Regions from separate parts of the Homo sapiens genome. Here region 2 is linked to region 1. Evidence: promoter capture Hi-C in 16 types of primary human blood cells and fetal thymus (Javierre and others, 2016). All regions are on one chromosome and are shown on one strand. Each heading gives the region's core, a stretch centred on a gene start or on the middle of the fragment in contact. The rest is flanking DNA. Distances are from core to core; before and after follow the strand shown.

Region 1 (3,127 bases), core at 432-2,931:
ATACTTAGCAACAATATTATGTATATTTTAAAGTAACTAGAAGAGAGGACTTTAAATGATACCAACACATAAAAATGATAAACACTGAAGGTGATACATACCCCAATTACCCTGACTTGATCATTAAACATTCTTTGCACGTAACAAACACTCACATGCAACTCATAAATATGTAAATTATTATACATCAATAAAAAGGGGGAAAATATTGTGGGGCTTGGGGAAGCCAAGAACATAAGGAGATGTTAGGAATTGTTTGGCTTAGGTCAGTAATTGTGATGGATTGTTGAATGTCAGAGGAGATAAAGTTCTGGAAAAAGCCAACATTGAAATTTCCCCTGGCCGGGCGTGGTGGCTCACGCCTGTAATCCCAGAACTTTGGCAGGCCAAGGCGGGCAGATCACCTGAGATCAGGAGTTCGAGACCAGCCTGGCCAACATGGTGGAACCCCATCTCTACTAAAAATACAAAAATTAGCCGGGCGTGGTGGTGCGTGCCTGTAATCCCAGCTACTCGAGAGGCTGAGGCGAATCACTTGAACCAGGGAGGTGGAGGTTGCAGTAAGCCAGGATCTTTCCACTGCACTCCAGCCTGAAAAAAAGAGTTTCCCCTCTGATCACTTTGGTTAACGATTTTAGTTAATAATTATAATAGAAACTAGCATTTACTTATTACTGCCAGGCATTATTCTAAGGACATTTCACGTATTCTCTCATTTCATCCTCCCAACACCACAATAAACCAGTAGTTGTATTATTCCCAATTTACAAAACCGAAGCAGAGACATTCAATAATTTTCCCCAGAGTTTCATAGCATAAAGGTGGAAGCTGATTTCAAATCCAGATAGACAGACATCACTGCCCATGCTTCTAATCATGTATTCATTTAGTCAACAACTACTTTTGGAATGCTTGCCATACCATGCAATGTGCAGGTTGTTTTGCAGGGACTGGAGATTCAGCAATGATTCAGACTAAAATCCCCTGCCCTGTCGAGGCTAAATAACTGCTCCTTACAGTGGCCTGTGGATCATATTGGTATAAGGCAGAGCAAAGATGGGTTAATATGGTAATCACAAGGCAGGGAGCTTTGTAAATGTGTCCTCCTAGGAGTTGTGCTCCCTTGATGCCATCAGTACATTCCACAAAGAGGAAGTTCTTCTAACTCACTACGCAGCTGGGCTTGGCTCTTACTCAAGAGCATTTTGGGGTGAAAATATCTAAGTTTACCAGCCCTTGTGCAAATCTGAGATGAAGGACTACATTAAAAGTAAAATTCACCTTAGCAGGAAGTGGGGTTTGCTATTCTGTGTATATCTTTAACAGTATCTGCTGAAAAGAACCCTTTTGTTAAATAATTGTATTACAAGTCCCCAACTTAATCTTTTCGAATATGAAATAAGAGAGGGACAGTGCACAAGAGCAATGTCCCCAGACCCATCTTTAAGTGAAGCACCAGGCCGATGAAACATCCCTCTCTGCTGCCTTCTTTCTCTGATCACAACTCAGCTCCGGAGGAAAAAGAGTCCTCTAAAGTATAATAAAAAGAAAAAAAGAAAAAGAGTCCTGCCAATTTCACTTTCTAGTTTCACTTTCCCTTTTGTAACGTCAGCTGAAGGGAAACAAACAAAAAGGAACCAGAGGCCACTTGTATATATAGGTCTCTTCAGCATTTATTGGTGGCAGAAGAGGAAGATTTCTGAAGAGTGCAGCTGCCTGAACCGAGCCCTGCCGAACAGCTGAGAATTGCACTGCAACCATGAGGTAAATATTTTCCCTTCGTATTCGGTAGTGCTGTTGAGTCATCTTGTCCAATGCAAATCCTGAGAAGCTATGTTCCCAAAGAGGGCCAGCTCCATTTTAGTGTTTGTTTATAGCCTTACTATGCCTCTACCTCTGTTGGTTGTAAATCTGTCTTACCAATGGTGGTTTGTTCCCTCCTGAACAATTTTCTGCTTCACACTGGCAAGCTTCCTAAATTCATCTCCAGAACTGCACGCCTGGGGAGTTGAGTTGCAATCAGAGAAAGAAGGCAGCAGAGAGGGATGATGTTTCATCGGCCTGGTGCTTCACTTAAAGATGGGTCTGGGGGCATTGCTCTTGTGCACTGACCCTGTCTTATTTCATATTTGAAAGGATTAAGTTGGGGACTTGTAATACAATTATTTAACAAAAGGGTTCTTTTCAGCAGATACTGTTAAAGATATACACAGAATAGCAAACCCCACTTCCTGCAAAGGTGAATTTTACTTTTAATGTAGTTCTTCATCTCAGATTTGCACAAGGGCTGGTAAACTTAAATATTTTCACCCCAAAATGCCTCCTGAGTATGAATTAGAGATGGAGTGCTTGGAGAAAATAGTTCTGTTCTCACCTCTAACATTCCCTTCTATCCCCAAAACATGAGACTGCCCTGGAGAGGAAGTGTTAGCTCATTGAATAGGAAGGGAAATATTTTCTCCAGTTTGAAGGTGGGGTGGCCGGACCTGGTTGCCTAACCCTCATCCTGGGAGCTCTGGAATCCCGTGTTACCAACCCCTGTGCTTACTTCCTATGAGACACCTTGCCCTCTGTCTGTGAGGTTCCTGATTTCTCTTCTTGAAACGATATTATTTCCTGCTAGTCTAAATGTTCTGCCTGATTTCAAAAAAAAAAAAAAAGATTTGAGATATTTACAGATTTCTTTTTTTTGTAGTCACCCAGAATCTATAGAACCCTTTTCTTATTTCTTAGAATTTTAGCATGGTCTTATCTTAGAATTTTTCCCATTACAATACAGACCCATCTGTCCTTTCTTTCCTTAATTCTTTATCTATTGTGACTTTCACTGGGCATTGCCCTTGTGCCCTAAGACAGTGGTTCTCAAAATTGAGCATGCATAAAAATTGCCTGGACAGCTTATTAAGGACAGAGTCCTAGGGTTGACTCCCCAGAGATTCTCATTAAGTGGGTCTGGGTTAGAGTCTGAGGATGTGTGTTTCTAAAAGGCTCCTCAGTGATTCTGAGACTGCGGTGGTAGCATTAGTTCTGAGCCTGGTTGATAATGTCACTGTGGCTTTCATCCAGATAAGAGGCAAAGGAAGAAATTGTTGTTGTTGTGTATACAACTGGAACTTCTATAGGAATC
Region 2 (3,127 bases), core at 226-2,725, 260 kb after region 1:
GAGGTTGCAGTGAGCTGAGATCATACCACTGCACTCCAGCCTGGGTGACAGGGCGTGACTCCACCTCAAAAAAAAAAAAAAAAAGAATGTAGTCCACGGCCAGGCACAGTGGCTCATGCCTGTAATCCCAGCACTTTGGGAGGCTGAGGCAAGCGGATCACTTGAGGTCAGGAGTTTGAAACCAGTCTGGCCAACATGGTGAAACCTCATCTCTACGAAAAATCCAAAAATTAGCTGGGCATGGTGGCAGGCGCCTGTAATCCCAGCTACTCAGGAGGCTGGGCAGGAGAATCGCTTGAATTTTGGAGGCAGAGGTTGCAGTGAGCTGAGATTGTGCCACTGCACTCCAGCCTGGGCGACAGAGCGAGACTCTGTCTCAAAAAAAAAAAAAAAATAGTGTGTGGTCCGGGTCGTGGCATTCACGCAGCAACCTGAAGGAGGCAGGGGAGTGTGGCTGTGGTCATCTGGAGGGAAAGCACGGAAAAGGAGAAAGGGGCAAAATGAAGGCACCCTGAGTTTGGAGTGTGCTTGGTATACTTGAGGAAACACAAGGAGGCTGATGCGACTGGAACAGATGAACTAGGGCAGAAGTTCAAATTCTACTCAAAAAAAGAAGTGGAATTAGAGCAAGGGCAACAGCTAACCCAGATAATGATGTCTGCTGAAACTATCTCTTGGGGTCGTCTCCTACAGCTGCCCAAGGCAATGTTACTCCCTATTACACCGCTCAGTTGCGGTGTCCTTTATCTCGTGTGGTGAAAATTAGCGACGTGGACACACGTGGAGTGGATTAAGGGGTAGAAAGTTTAATAGGCAAGAAAGGAGAGAATAGCTCCCCGTACAGAGGGAGGAGGGCTCTGAACCGAAAACCCGCGTGCAGAGGAAAGCAGTGGTTTATATTGGGAGGCTGGAGGAGGTGGTGTCTAATTAGCATAGGGCACAGGGGATTGGTTTAACCACGTGTGTCATTCAGGTAGCCCCCCCAAAAAAACTGGCCCTCCCACCCTAGCCTTTTATTATGCAAATGCGGCTACCTGGCTGGTCGCCATGACACCTGTACACGTGGCAACAAAGAAAAAGTAGCAGGAACCGCCATATTGGCTGGACCTGACTCTTAACCATCTGCATTTGCATATCAATACTTGCAGGTCTGGTTTTTCAGGCTGCTTTCTGTTAGATAATAAATATTTGGGGGACCGCTTTTTTATTAAACGAAAAAGACTTACTGAGGACTCTTTTACCCTCTCTAGCTGCCTAAAATAATTTCTTAATAACTCCTGTAATACCTACATATAGAACCTTTTACAGTTCTCCAAATAGATTGTGTTCTTCACCCTTCCACGCCATCTCTGTCTACCTAAGCGGACTCCTTTTATACTTCAAGTCAAGCTTAATTATGGCCTTCTCTGGAAAACTGCCCCCCATCCTGATTAGACAAGCATGCCCTCGTAGCACCTTGTCACCCTATGCACAACCCTATCCTAGTGTCTATTGCATTGCATTGTAGCTGGTGCTTTACTTCTCTACCTTGCCCACCAGACAGCAAGCCTCTTGAGGACAAGAAAGCTTTTTCTTTCTGTCTCGGTATCCATAGTACTTAAATACTTATATAGACACAACAGATAATTAGGAAATGTTTACTGAATGAATAAATAGCATTGGCAATCACTCATAAAAACGCCAAGTCAGATTTTAGTACCCCCTTAGCATACTTGCACATGATACCTACTAGCAATCCTGAAGGGTCACTAGATGCCAGGCAATGCACTGAATTAGGCGGTTGTTGGTTACTATTCATTATCTTCCAACAACCCTACAAATTAGATGTTATTATTCCCATCTTTAAATGTAAGAAAAATAAAATTGGGCAGGTTAAATAGCATATGTCACCACCTAGACCCAGGATTTTAATTTAGTCTCTCTAAATCCCAAACTACACCAAGCTGTAAGTCAGAAAAATGTAAATGAGGAACAGCTTATGGTACACTTAAAAAAATTATTTGATAAAAATCTGTTAGAGATTTACAGAAAACTTTTCACACTGTATTTACATTGCTTGACTTCATTATGGATTTTCAAGGAAGAATGATTGAAGGCCAACTCAATCATTCAGCCACAGTGAAGAGTTTGGCATAATTTGAAACAAAGGAATACATATGGGAAGCATCTAGAACTGAGTGAAATGGTGGCAAAGAAGACATGGACCTATACAAATATTACTAATTGGGAAAACACTTATAAACCACTGTAGGGTTTCTACATTGTTGAATGCTATCCCAATTTTTTAATACATGACATAGAACAATATTTACATACATGTACACTGAAAATAGATCCAAAGGGTATAAAACAAAATGTTTTGGTTATTTCTGAGTTATATAATTTTTTTTTCTGTGCTTGTCCACATTTACTAAAATCTCCACAATTAAAAAAAAAAAAATCCATGATGAGCTGGGAGTCGTGGCGCACACCTGTGGTCCCAGCTACTTGAGAGGCTGAGGAAAGATGATCACTTTGGCCCGGGAATTTGAGGCCAGCCTGGGCAATATAGCGAGACCCCATCTTTAAAAATTAAAAAAGTAAAAAAATAAAAAGTTTGTAATAAAACTTATAACAAGAAAATGAACCTAGTTAAAAAATAAAAAGAAGATCTGAATAGACACTTCACCAAAAATGATATACAGATAGCAAATAAGGCATTGAAAAGACGCTTGATATCACATGTTGTTAGGGAATTGCATATTAAAACAATGAGATACCACTACATACCTATTAGAATGGCTAAAATCCAAAACTCTAACAGCATCAAATACTGACAAATGTGAAGTAATAGCTCTCATTCATTGCAAAGTGCAAAATCGTACAGCCACTTTGGAAGATAGCTTGTCAGTTTCTTACAAAACTAAACATACTCTTACCATATAATCCAGCAGTTGCACCCCCTGGTATTTACTCAAATTAATCAAAAATTTATGTCCACACAAAATCCTGCACATGGATGTTTATAGCAACTTTACTCATAATTGCCCAAACCTGGAAGCAACCAAGATGTCCTTCAATAGGTGACTGGATAAATTGTGGTACATCAAGACAATGAAATATTATTCAACACTAAGAATAAATAAAT

The links. Contacts are between HindIII fragments. The CHiCAGO score rates a contact against its expected background, and 5 or more counts as called.
Region 2: a contact is called between a fragment that was not itself captured here and the fragment with the promoter of IFIT2 in region 1, in 9 of 17 cell types (total CD4 T cells, total CD8 T cells, naive B cells and 6 more). The highest score is 13.0, in total CD4 T cells.

The regions. Positions count from the first base shown.
Region 1 is chr10:89,300,365-89,303,491 of GRCh38, forward strand. IFIT2 (interferon induced protein with tetratricopeptide repeats 2) reads left to right here and starts at 1,682. Exons shown (of 2, transcript NM_001547.5): 1 at 1,682-1,764. The coding sequence starts at 1,760. It overlaps LOC105378419 (a long non-coding RNA gene), which reads right to left and starts at 1,539. Exons shown (of 3, transcript NR_188200.1): 1 at 922-1,539. It also overlaps a transcript of LIPA not described here. RefSeq lists an enhancer at 1,390-1,709. The HindIII fragment of the contact is 3,117 bases long and covers 1-1,968 here.
Region 2 is chr10:89,558,045-89,561,171 of GRCh38, forward strand. No RefSeq gene overlaps it. Among named protein-coding and RNA genes, the nearest start is that of SLC16A12, 24 kb to the left of the region's middle. RefSeq lists an enhancer at 825-1,349. The HindIII fragment of the contact is 177 bases long and covers 1,388-1,564 here.